Regions from separate parts of the Homo sapiens genome. Here region 2 is linked to region 1. The links are contacts of gene promoters, found by promoter capture Hi-C in blood cells and fetal thymus (Javierre and others, 2016). All regions are on one chromosome and are shown on one strand. Each heading gives the region's core, a stretch centred on a gene start or on the middle of the fragment in contact. The rest is flanking DNA. Distances are from core to core; before and after follow the strand shown.

Evidence for each region. Contacts are between HindIII fragments. The CHiCAGO score rates a contact against its expected background, and 5 or more counts as called.
Region 2: a fragment that was not itself captured here is called in contact with the fragment with the promoter of TFF2 in region 1 in 2 of 17 cell types (total CD8 T cells and activated CD4 T cells); the score reaches 6.6 in total CD8 T cells.

The regions. Positions count from the first base shown.
Region 1 is chr21:42,347,308-42,353,917 of GRCh38, reverse strand. It overlaps TFF2 (trefoil factor 2), which reads left to right and starts at 2,924. Exons shown (of 4, transcript NM_005423.5): 1 at 2,924-3,039; 2 at 3,888-4,037; 3 at 6,286-6,432. The coding sequence starts at 2,961. LOC105372815 (a long non-coding RNA gene) reads right to left here and starts at 1,625. Exons shown (of 3, transcript XR_937755.3): 1 at 617-1,625. The HindIII fragment of the contact is 5,593 bases long and covers 1-5,527 here.
Region 2 is chr21:42,450,994-42,457,171 of GRCh38, reverse strand. No RefSeq gene overlaps it. Among named protein-coding and RNA genes, the nearest start is that of RSPH1, 42 kb to the left of the region's middle. The HindIII fragment of the contact is 2,938 bases long and covers 1,936-4,873 here.

The sequences.
Region 1 (6,610 bases), core at 1,675-4,174:
GCTGTAGTCTGGAGAGCGTCTCCAGGAAACCAAGGCAGCCATGGGACTCCCCCTATTGTTTCCCTTCTCTCAGGGATCGCTGTCTGGCACTGCCTGCTGCTCAGCATCTGCAGACTGTTACTTATGTAGTTTTAGAGTTACTCATGGTGGGAGGCTAGCCTGGTACCAGTGACTCCATAGTCAAAAGCGGAAGTCCACATGGGTGATAGCTGAGGTGGTTCCCATTTGTTGACTTTCTATGTGAACTGATGGAAAGTATCATCCCCAAAGTGTGCAAAATGGAAGTGAGCAGGGGTGGAGAAGGATAAACAGAAAGAGGAGGGCGCCAGCCCTGAGTGCCTGGATGGCGCTGAGATCATGCGTTGAGAGTGGCAACAATTCAAGGTAGGTGTCGGCCATGCTAGGCAGATGGCATAGGCACAGAGACAGTGGGAAACAGCAGTGAGGAAGACGGTGGGTGAAGTGAGCACTGTGGAAATCAGGCTGGAGAAGCAGGAAGGAAGGATAGACAGGAGGGGGCTCACAGGGGAATAGGGGATTGGAGGGCTTTAGGATTCAGACAAAGGGAGAATGTTAGGAGCTTAGGACATCCTGGGCAGAAAGGACATTTGCATACCCTCTTTCAGAGGTGGAGCTCAAGTTCTGAGTGTGGTCATGGGAGGGTGGCAGAAGTGGCAGAAGTGGAGTGGAGATGGAAGTTCCTAGAGATGAGGAAAAATAAAATCTGAGCGACTGTGAATTTTGATGAAACATCGACCGCCATGTTGAAGATGGCTGGGATGTGGCCAAGTCTTAGCATGACAAGGAACACAGTGAACTCAGTGCTGAAATTCTTAACGAAAGGGACAGGCTGCACAAAGGTCGGCAGATGACAGCAGGGCAGGGACTCCGGACATGGCGCCCTTCCCAGCCTGCATCTCCAAGGAGGATGGTTTTTGCATGAGGGTGAAGACTTGGGGCTCAAAGTCAATGTCCAGCCCCCAGTCTGAGCCCATGTGATGGGGACGTGGCCACCAAGTACAGTTGTGGAGGTTGTGAACAGCTCCACTTTCAACTAGCGATGCCACTCTATTGCAGACGTCCCATCTCGTGTAATGGTTTCCCAACTCTGTGGGCACTCAGTGTCCCTGCGTGGGGGCCTGAGCAGGATTCCAGGGAAGCATGCCTATGACAACACAGGCTTCCGCCAGGGCCAGGAGAGTGAGAGAGGCTGAGAAGTGGTCTCTTTTGCATGGGTCAGGTGGTCGCAGCAGGAATCCTGAAGGGGCTGCAGTGAGCGGTGGGAAGTCGAGTTGATGGGGAGGAAGCAGAGAGGAGAGGTGGGTGGGAATATGAGAGAAAACAATGACTCAGTCACTTATATCATGATGGTGACTAAAGTGACAGGGATGTAGAACAAGGAAACTGACCTTGCCAGAGTTTTCATGGATCGAGTCCCTGTGGTTGCCCAGTGGTGAACAGTCAGCAGAGAGCCTGGAGGTACTTGACCCGGACCCAGAGGAGCCCTGGAGGATGGAGCCTGGAGGACGGGGGCCTGGAGAATGAGGGTCTGGAGGACGAGGGTCTGGAGGAACAGGGGCCTGGAGGACGAGGGTCTGGAGGAAGAGGGCCTGGAGGACAGGGGCCTGAAAGATGGGGGCCTGGAGGATGAGGGTCTGGAGGATGAGGGTCTGGAGGAGCAGGGGCCTGGAGGATGAGGGCCTGGAGGACAAGAGCCTGGAGGACAGGGGCCTGAAAGATGGGGGCCTGGAGGATGGGGCCTGGAGGATGGGGGCCTGGAGGACGGGGGCCTGGAGGATGATGGCCTGAAGGATGAAACCTGGAGGATGGAGCCTGGAGGATGGAGCCTGGAGGATGAGGGCCTAGAGGATGGGGGCCTGGAGGACAGGGGCCTAGAGGATGGAGCCCTGGAGAATGGGGGCCTGGAGGATGGAGCCTGGGGGACGAGGGCCTGGAGGATGGGGGCCTGGAGTATGGGGCCTGCTCTCCAGACCCTGAGGACAGCCCCGTGGTGGACCAAGGATTTTGGGTTTCCTGCGTCTCTGGGCCCCTGACTGCTCAACCATCAGAAACAGACTGGCAACCCCCTGTCATTTCCCTGGCGTGGGGAACTTCGGGTCCCCTCTGTCCTTCCCACCACACTTTTCCCTCTTTCTTTCCGGGTGTCTACTCTCTGGCTTCTGTCTTCTCTGTCAGGTCCACAGAATCCTTCTCCAGCACATCCTACCCCAGGAAGGCCATGGGCTGGGTCCCAGGTGCCATCTTTCAGAAGATGTAGAGCATTCCCATGGAACAAAAATAACCCATTTCAGGGGTTGGCTGAAAATGAACTTATTAAAACCTGCCTGTCACAGGCTACTCCGCTGACCCTGTCAGCCTCATCTCCATGGAGAGCAGCCCCTCCTGCTGAAGATGGGACAAAGGGCATCGTGCTGCGGTTGGGGAGGCTCTAACCACAGCCCTGGGAGCAGTCTCTTACCTCCTCTGAGATGCTTCCCTTCCTCAGGGAGGGGACTTTTCCATGCTATCTGCTGGCCTGTACATTTTCCCCAGTAAACTTGGCCCTAATATTTTCTAAATTCCTGTGGTCCCTGCCCACTCTATCAATAGAAATGCATAGCTTATCCCTTCCTGGGTGTGACCCTGTGTGTGCCCAGCCCCAGACCTGCACGTGGCCGGTTTTCCACGCTGGCAGCCTGGCATGACCCAACTCTCTGTCCAGGGCAGGAAGAGGTATCACCGAGCAGGGAGAGAGTCACCCTGGCCCGGAAGCCTCGCCTGCACAGGGCACAGCTGCCTCTTGCCTCCTCTTCGCCTCCACGGTGGAAGGGCTGGGGCCACGGGGCAGAGAAGAAAGGTTATCTCTGCTTGTTGGACAAACAGAGGGGAGATTATAAAACATACCCGGCAGTGGACACCATGCATTCTGCAAGCCACCCTGGGGTGCAGCTGAGCTAGACATGGGACGGCGAGACGCCCAGCTCCTGGCAGCGCTCCTCGTCCTGGGGCTATGTGCCCTGGCGGGGAGTGAGAAACCCTGTAAGTGAAGGAGAGGGTCTTTTTATGTGCTTTCTTTATTTCTCTTAAAGAAAAAAAAAAAGCACAACCATAAATTAACTTGAGAGGGGGAATGGCTATAAAGGCATCTGGCAATGTGTGTTGTTCACATGGGATTTGCCACTGCTCAGGAGGGTGGCTCCAAGAAGGGCCTCCCTCCTAGGGAAAGGCTGAGTGACGGCAGGTGTCAGCGGGCCCCGTGTCGGGCCAGGAGGGCATTCCCACCAAGGGTCCTTGGAGTCCCAGAGCACTCACCTCTCGCCTGGATCTTGGCCTTGGGTCCATCTGTTCACCCTCCTCTAGGAGGGTTTTGTTTTTGTTTTTTTCCGAGACAGGATCTGGCTTTGCCGCCCAGGCAGGAGTGCAGTGGTGTGATCTTGGCTCACTGCAACCTCTGCCTCCCAGGCTCAAGTGATCCTCCCACCTCAGCCGCCTGAGTAGCTGAAACCACAGTTGTGGACCATCATGCCCGGCCAATTTTTTTTTTTGTATTGTTTGTAGAGATGGGGTTTCGACATGTTGCCCAGGATGGTCTTGAACTCCTGAGCTCAAGCAATCTGCCCGCCTCGGCTTCCTAAAGTGCTGGGATTATAGGTATGAGCCACCATGCCTGGCTTTTTTTTTTTTTTCCTTTTAAACTAATATAACAATTTCAGCAAAGCCCTATCGGCTTCTCAGGAGGAAACCGCATTGCTTAAATATGGGCAAGATAAGACTTTGTGTTTCTCTATGTGGCAACAAGACAGTAGAGGCATCCCCTAGAACCTCTGAGAGAAGGAGCAGTGTGGTCTGGGGTACCAGGGTGGGGCCGACTGAGGGTCTTTCCACAGCCCCCTGCCAGTGCTCCAGGCTGAGCCCCCATAACAGGACGAACTGCGGCTTCCCTGGAATCACCAGTGACCAGTGTTTTGACAATGGATGCTGTTTCGACTCCAGTGTCACTGGGGTCCCCTGGTGTTTCCACCCCCTCCCAAAGCAAGGTAATCTTCCAGGGAATCTTCCTGGGCCAGCAGCTGGCAACCCAGGACCCAGCTTCACAGGCGGAGCCCAGAGCAGGGGCCGGAGGAGGCCCAGTTGCTAGTCTAGGGTTAGCCTGGGTGGGTTAGTCTCGAGCTAGCCCCGGTTGGTTAGTCTGGGGCTAGCCCAGGTTGGTTAGTCTAGAGCTAGCCCAGGTTGGTTAGTCTGGGGCTAGCCCAGGTTGGTTAGTCTGGGGCTAGCCCAGGTTGGTTAGTCTAGGGCTAGTGTAGGCTAGTTAGTCTAAGGCTAGCCCAGGTTGGTTAGTTTGGAGCTAGCGCAGGTTGGTTAGTCTGGGGCTAGTAGCCCAGGTTGGTTAGCCTGGAGCTAGCCCAGGTTGGTTAGTCTAGGGCTAGCGTAGGCTGGTTAGTCTGGGGCTAGCCCAGGTTGGTTAGTCTGGAGCTAGCCCAGGTTGGTTAGTCTGGGGCTAGTAGCCCAGGTTGGTTAGTCTGGGGCTAGCCCAGGTTGGTTAGTCTAGGGCTAGTGTAGGCTAGTTAGTCTAGGGCTAGCCCAGGTTAGTTAGTTTGGAGCTAGCACAGGTTGATTAGTCTGGGGCTAGTAGCCTAGGTTGGTTAGTCTGGAGCTAGCCCAAGTTGGTTAGTCTAGGGCTAGCATAGGCTGGTTAGTCTGGGGCTAGTAGCCTAGGTTTGTTAGTCTGGAGCTAGCCCAGGTTGGTTAGTCTAGGGCTAGCGTAGGCTGGTTAGTCTAGGGCTAGCCCAGGTTGGTTAATCGGAGCTAGCCCAGGTTGGTTAGTCTGGAGCTAGCCCAGGTTGGTTAGTCTGAGGCTAGTAGCCCAGGTTGGTTAGTCTGGGGCTAGCCCAGGTTTGTTAGTCTGGAGCTAGCCCAGGTTGTTTAGTCTGGAGCTAGCCCAGGTTGGTTAGTCTGGGACTAGCCTGGACTGCTAGTCTAGAGGTAGCCTAGAGGACTGCTAGTCTAGAGGTAGTCTAGGGCTAGCCCAGGTTGGTTAGTCTGGGGCTAGCCCATGTTGGTTAGTCTTAGACTAGCCTGGACTGCTAGTCTAGAGGTAGCCCAGGTTGTTTAGTCTGGTACTAGCCTGGACTGTTAGTCTAGAGGTAGCCCAGGTTGGTTAGGTTGGTTAGTCTGGGACTAGTCTGGACTGTTAGTCTAGAGGTAGCCCAGGTTGGTTAGTCTGGGACTAGCCTGGACTGTTAGTCTAGAGGTAGCCCAGATTGGTTAGTCTGGGACTAGTCTGGACTGCTAGTCTAGAGGTAGCCCAGGTTGGTTAGCCTGGGGCCAGCCTGGACTGTTAGTCTAGAGGTAACCCAGGTCAGCCAACAGTGAGATGAAAATTTCCCACCTACCCTGTTTCTACACTGTTAGTTCTTTCAACAGACATGTGTGTGTGGAGCCATCAGTTTTACTTTAGTTGAGAAAAAAATATATATATATATAGTAGGTCTCCTCTAGTTTTTGAAGTGTGACTTCTGAAGAAGCTTCCATGGGGAAATGAAGGTATTTAATAGGACAGCAGTAACATAAGGGCTGACAGCCCTCAAATGTTAGGGAAGGAAGTGAAGCCTTCTAGGGTTCTTTGGGAGTGAGTTTTATGTTAGTGCACGGGATCAGGACCCAAGTTGTAACGCCGACGAGTGCTCAAAGGAAGGTTGTGTGTGTGTCGTGCACCTGTGTGCGTGGAACCAGGCACGTCCTCTGGAGAAGGAGGATTCATCCCCAAGATTGTTGCTGGGAGGCTTGCTGGGCCCCGCAGGGAAACCAGGCAGATGGTGGATTGTTCACGAGCGCCCACTGAATGGCAGTGTCTTTGGGAATCAATACCATGTCCAAACGCTTTCCATCTTACCAAGGTGCCCACAAACCTTTTCTCATCTTGGCCCGGGGGACCACCCCATTTACTGAGAACACTGAGTCCCGAGAGGCAAAATGATTTCCCCAAGGCGGGGGACTCCAGAGCTTCTGACTGTGACCACCCCACATGGGCCCCACCTTCGCGGAGGACAGGCCAGCCAAGCGTCGCTGGGGCCGACACTTCCACAGTCCCCGGGGGAGGCGGTCCCAGGGGCCGACACTTCCACAGTCCCCGGGGGAGGCCGTCCCGGGGGATGCTGCCCCAGGCAGCACCTCATGATCCACGGAGGCTGCAAATCAGCGCTGCTCTCAGAGGAGGAAGGGGTGGAGCTTTCCAGGGCACAGCAGGCCTGACTGGGTCTCGGTGCTGTGCCTGTCCCATGGCAGAGTCGGATCAGTGCGTCATGGAGGTCTCAGACCGAAGAAACTGTGGCTACCCGGGCATCAGCCCCGAGGAATGCGCCTCTCGGAAGTGCTGCTTCTCCAACTTCATCTTTGAAGTGCCCTGGTGCTTCTTCCCGAAGTCTGTGGAAGGTAACGTCGCTGTGGGACTCTCTGTCTGGTTCCCGGACACCATGATTCCTCCTCCGTCCGTAGAGGTGGGGTGCAGGGAGGGGAGCTGCCTCGCAGCCTCAGTGCCATCGAGGCCAGGGCCCCTGCCTCCTATGGGATTCTGAAGGCAATTCCAGAATGTTCTTGGCAAAGACAGCGT
Region 2 (6,178 bases), core at 2,155-4,654, 100 kb before region 1:
TTTTGCTTCTGGTTTCTTTATGCTACTATAAGTGATGTTTTTATTTTACTTACTGATTGTTCACTGCTAACATAACATTTGTATTCCGCCTCTGTCCCCCTCTCTGCTGTCTTCTCTTCACCTCACGTATTGGCAGAGGAGGTGTTACGTGTTCACTGGCTTATTAGTCCATTGCTCACCACCTTCCACTGAAATATAAGCTCTTTGAGAGTGAGCTTGTATCTGATCCACTGCTGCTTTCCCAGCAGTGTTAATGGCACCCAAACATTCCCTCATAAATGTCTGTTGAGTGGATGACTGAGGCGCCGGACTCCACACTTGAGGGCTGAGGTGAGGAAGGACGAACTCTTCCCAGTGCTGAGCCTGAGGAGGGAGTGTGGGCTGAGGAGGGGGCGTGGGCTGAGGAGGGAGCGTGGGCTGTGGAAGGGCAGACAAGACGGTGAGCTCATGGGTCTCATTGGCGGTCAGGAGAGGGTCCTCTGTAACAGAGGCCTCCAACCCCTGTTGGGAACCAGGCTGCACAACAGGAGATGAGCAGTGGGTGGATGAGTAAGTGAAGCTTCGTCTGTATCTACAGCCACTCCCCATTGCTCTCATTACTGCCTGAGCTCCGCTTCCTGTCAGATGAGTGGTGGCATTAGTCTCATAGGACTGTGAACGCTACTGTGAACTGTGCATGTGAGGGATCTGGGTTGTGAGCTCCTTATGAGAATCTAATGCTTGATTATCTGTCACTGTCTCCCATCACCCCCAGATGGGACTGTCTAGTTGCAGGAAAACAAGCTCAGGGCTCCCACTGATTCTACATTATGGTGAGTTGTATAATTATTTTATTATATATTACAACGTGATAATAGAAATAAAGTGTGCACAATAAATGTAATTGCACTTGAATCATCTCAAAACCATTCCCCACCCCCACCCCACCCTGGTTTGTGGAAAAATTTTCTTCCACGACACTTGTCCCTGGTGCCAAAAGGCTGGGAACTGCTGCTCTACAAGAGGGCCAGCTGCTGCTGGGCTGTGAAACCCACTGAAAAGAAGGACAAATACCAGGTTTTTGGTAATGGGAGGACATTACCAGGGCAGAAATGCCCAATGTGAAGCTCAACTGCACATGTGAATTTGACTGGACTGCAGGGTGCAAAGACGTTTTGACCCAGTGTCACTCTGGGGGTGTGTGAGGAGGTTTCTGAATGAGACGAACATTCGAATCAGGAGACTGTCAAGCAAACGGCCCTCCCCAGGGTGGGTGGGCCTCATCCAATCAGTTGAAGGTCTGAATGGAACAAAAGGCTAAGAGGAAACTCCTCATGTCTGACGGCCTTTGAACTGAGGCATTGGCTTTTTCCTGCCATTGGACTTGAATGAAAACATCGATTCTCTCTGGGTCTCGAGCCTACTGGCCTCCAGACGGGAGGCCAACAGCTCCCGCAGATCGTGGGGCTTCTCAGCTTCTGTAAGAGTGTGAGCCAATGCCCCTCTCTCCTTCCCTCTCCCAGCCTGTATCTGTATGTTTGTATCCGTATGGATGTGGGTCCTGTTTCCCACTGGCTGTTTCTCTGGAGAACTCTGGTTCCTGCCCTCTGTTTTGTTGTTTGTGGCTCTAAGTCACGGTATGTTAAAGTTCAGGTTTAAGAGGATGCGGGCTGCCATGTCTAAACATGTGGGCATAAGTACAAAAATCCTTACGTCATCAGATTGTGTTTCATCATATGGGCTAATTTCTTTCCTCAGGCTAAGCTGCAAGTTCTTGTCTGGAGTCGAAGGACCAATAATATCGCCTTCACCTGCCCCCTCCTGGTCCACTCACCAGGATGCCAGGCGGGACTTTTGCACCACCCTGACTGTGAGGCAATGCCCTGGGGATCCTGCTAAGACACAGCTGCTGACACGGAGACGGGGGTGCCTGAGGCCCTGCATTTGTAACAAGCTTCCAGGCAATGCCTGTAATCCTGGTCCTCGGTCCAGAGTTTGAGAAGCAAAAAAATAAATAATTTATAGGGCCCCTTGCCTCTCCTCAAAGTCTGGTTATATTTTCTAGATAATAAGTGCTATCAGTACCTCGCAAGGAGAACAAAATGGCTCAAGGATAGCTGGAGGCAAAGAAAGTGCAGTGTGTCTTCCAAAATCACTAACTCAAATAAACGGGCTGCCTCTCCGGGGAGGCTCCTGGGAGGAGAGTGTGCCTTCGGTGAGCTCATTCGCAGGCGTTTCTCCTTCGGGATTTACGTTGCTTTCGTGCTATAGCTTCTTTGGAAAATTGCTTGGTTTATTGTCCTAACACAGTTTTGTCTCACTATGGGACACAATGAAAGAGAATGAGTTAATGGTTGAAAGAAATACATTTTGGAGAGAGAAGGAGAAACATGACATTTCCAGATGATTAATTTTTTAATGACTTCTTGGAGAACTTTGTTTGAAGACTTCACCAGGAAGATTGCATGTATACATGTGTGTTTCTTAATCCATTTTTGTGGCCTTAAGTCCTAGGAAAAAATGGTACTGGACAGCCGGAAGTGGCATTTACTTGGAACCACACAGGAAGAAGTACATCATAATTCTGGGAGTTTGCTGTGGCAATTTGCAAAGGCCTTTCACACAGCTGGACCCCTCTCACTTTTCATGAAGAACCCCCCACGCGCCGGCAGACAGCGGCTGCACACACATTCAGGAGATTGCAGGAAATAATTTCCAACAGCAAATGAGACATTAGTTATTCAATGCTGATAAACAACAGCAGCGCTTCATCCGAAGGAATTCCACTGGGATCTGAGTTAAAGCTCAGTTCCGTCCTCTACTCATGGTGACCTCGGACAGAGTCTCTGTGCCTCGGGCCCACCGTTGTAAAATCATGTGGCCTGTCGATGGGTCCACGTCACTTGCAGCATCTTAGTCCTCATTCTGGAGGACACGATGTGCCCTCTTAGCAGTGAGCCCTGGAGGGGCTGACTCGCAGCCGTGTTTACCTATTCCTGTGGTCCAAATGCTCCTGCCAGGGCTGATTCAATTACATCTCTAGCAGTGAACTTCAGCTGGATGGACTGACCTTCCAACCCTGAACTTCAAGGTGAGTGTGTGAAGCATGCCGGCTGTGTCTTGCCTTGGGAGAGTAGGTGGCTCACCCCGGGCGGCTGAGGCGATGAGGCAGGGAGGAGCAGGAGTGGGAACATCTGGTTGGATAGCAGGGCTGGAGAGAGGCGAGAGCTTGGGGGCTCTCTTCAGGTGTGCTCCAGGTGCCAGAGTCGCTGCTGGCCAAGGATCCCGGAAGAGACACAGCTCGGGATGAATCCCTGGAACCAAAAGTCTGTCCAGTGCTCCGCAGGGAGCAGACAGCGTTCCACTTAGTGCCCCTGGCCTGGCTCCACCCACCCGTCTTTCCTAGACCCAGGGACTTGGCCTCCTCTCTCTCCTGACCCCGCCTGCACATGGGCCTCAGCCCTTCTGTCCTTCCATCCTCTGTAGAGAGAATGTTGTTTCCTTTTACAGGAAGAGGCACTGGCCTGAAGCGCACAGCTGTGATGATCCCAGCAGGTCTGTGCAGCAGCTCAGCTGGCCTCTCCCTGCAAACTAACGTTCGTGCCTGCTGCAGGGGTGGGCTGGGGTGGCTCATATCAGCTCAAGAGAGCTGAGTTTTAAATTTTCACGCAGTCTGCAAATCAATTGTCAAAACACTGGCAGCCCAGAATCAGCCCTGGTGCATTTACATCATGGAAACTGGAAAACACAGCAGACACTGCGAGTCAGCCCCTCCAGGGCTCACTGCTAAGAGGGCACGTGTCCTCCAGAATGAGGACTAAGATGCTGCAAGTGACATGGACCCATCGACAGGCCGCATGATTTTACAGCAGTGAGCCCGAGACACAGAGACTGTGTCTGAGGTCACCATGAGTAGAGGACCGAACTGGGCTCCAACTCAGAGCCCCTGGATCCCAGTGGAATTCCTTTGGATGAAGCGCTGTTGTTGATGTTTATCTGCATTGAATAATTAATGTCTCATTTGCTGTTGGAAATTATTTCCTGCAATCTCCTGAATGTGTGTGCAGCCACCATCTGTCGGCCTTGGGGATGAGGGGAGAGGAGAAGCATGAGACAGGGTTAAGGAGAAGCCTCTGTTGAAGAATTATTGTGTCAGGGCTGCTCCCAGCTGGGCTAAAGGACTGGAGTCCAACAGTGTGGAGCCTCGTGGTGTCCACGGTGCACTGCACTTAAATGTTCTAGAATTTGAGTGTGGGGCCAGCCAAGAGGACTACGAGGCTGGACACAGGGCTCAGCTGCCCTCACAGCACAGCCACCACATCACACGGAGGCAGTGAGGTCCGTGCAGGACTTGGTCGCACCTCCGCGTGGCTCCCCCTGCCCAGGCCCACACCTACGTCCAGGGGCAGTGTCCGCAAAGTTCCAGTTCTGCTCGGACTTCCTCCGTAGCAGCATCACACAAGTGTTCAGCTCGAGATGTGCACCGATTCCTTTCCAACCTTCGTCTCCATAAAGGTCTGTCTGCTCAGCAGGAGTGCACATGTGCGACTCCAGACTCCTAACACACCTGTGCCCATTCGCGCTATGCCTGAGTGCCCTGGTGGGAGCCCTGAGGCCAGGGTTCCATGCAGACCTGTGAAGGGAATACATCGGTACTTCTCAGCTGGGGATGATCCTGCTCCCCCAGGGACATTTGGCAGCATGTGGAGACATCTTTGTTTATCACAACTGGTGGGCTGGGGTGAGGGACGTACTGCTGCTTCAGTAGGGGAGGGCCAGGGATGCTGCTGGACATCCCACAATGCACAGGGCGTCCTCTGACAAAGATGTATCTGGCCCCAAATGTCAATAGTGCCAAGGCTGGGAAATCCTGGCCTATAGGAGCAGAGAAGCTTTGCAGGGGGGTCACTGGTCCCACTGGACTTGGGGCTGCCTGGAAGCCCGGCACACGGTCACTATTGCAACCCCTGGGAAGGAGTGACAGACAAGACGATGAGAGACCGCAACAACAGGACAAGGCAGACACGACTGACATGAATTGTGCAGAGGACGCCTGAGCTGGGATTCAGGGGCAGCAAGGTGGGCTGGCGGCCAGGAGGGCTTCCTGGAGGGGGTGGGCTGGAACTGGGCGGCATGAGAAGCACAGAGCTTTCCCAGCTTACCTTTTACTTTTTAACTCTATGATAGTTTTTATTTTTATTTATTTATTTATTTTGAGATGGAGTCTCACTCTGCCGCCCAGACTGGAGTGCAGTGGTGTGATCTCGGCCCACTGCAACCTCCGCCTCCCAGGTTCAAGTGATTCTCCTGCCTCAGCCTCCTGAGTAGCTGGGATTACAGGTGCCTGCCACCATGCCTGGCTAATTTTTGTATTTTTAGTAGAGATAGGGTTTCACCACATTGGCCAGGCTGGTCTCGAACTCCTGACCTCAAGTGATCCACCTGCCTTGGCCTCCCAAGTGCTGGGATTATAGGCGTGAGCCACTGCGCCCGGCCCATGATTTCTTTTTTTTTAAATATTTAAATCTTTGATGTTTTTTTTTGGTATGAGGAATGAGGAGTGATTCCAACCTTCTTTTCCCCAAATGTGATCCAGTTGTCCCAGTGTCATTTATTTAATCACCTTCCTTCCCCCACTGCTATGACTGCTCCCTTTACTGTATATACCTACATAAAAGCAGGTACTTACCATAGGTCCTGCCCTCAGGTCAAGCGACCTCGATGTTACTGTACTTTAGTTGTCCTGCACATCCCTTCTGAACCACCTCTCCCCTATGGTGCATAAGCTCTGGGTCTGGGAGTGATGGGTCAGGAGCCACCCATGTTCTGATGAACCCCAGTTCTGGGAAGGCCTCTAAGATTTCCAGTTATCTGCTGTTCCTGTGGAAGAGCAGGTGCTTACCATAGGTTTAAATATGGTATGAGGATATGAGGATATAAAAAATACCATGTTTATAGGGTTAGGGTTAGGGTCCCTCCCCCAACACTGGGGATTACAATTCAACATGAGATTTGGGTGGGGACACAGAACCAAACCATATCAGTCTCCAACATAGCTTTTCAGGGGGACACAATTCAGCCCATGGTAGTGGTTCTCACCATGTCCTGTGGGCCATCCAGCCCTAAATTCCTCCGCAGCCACTCCCAGGCTCCTGGGGCCTTCTTGGGATTTGTGGCTGTGCATTCGATGCTGCCATTT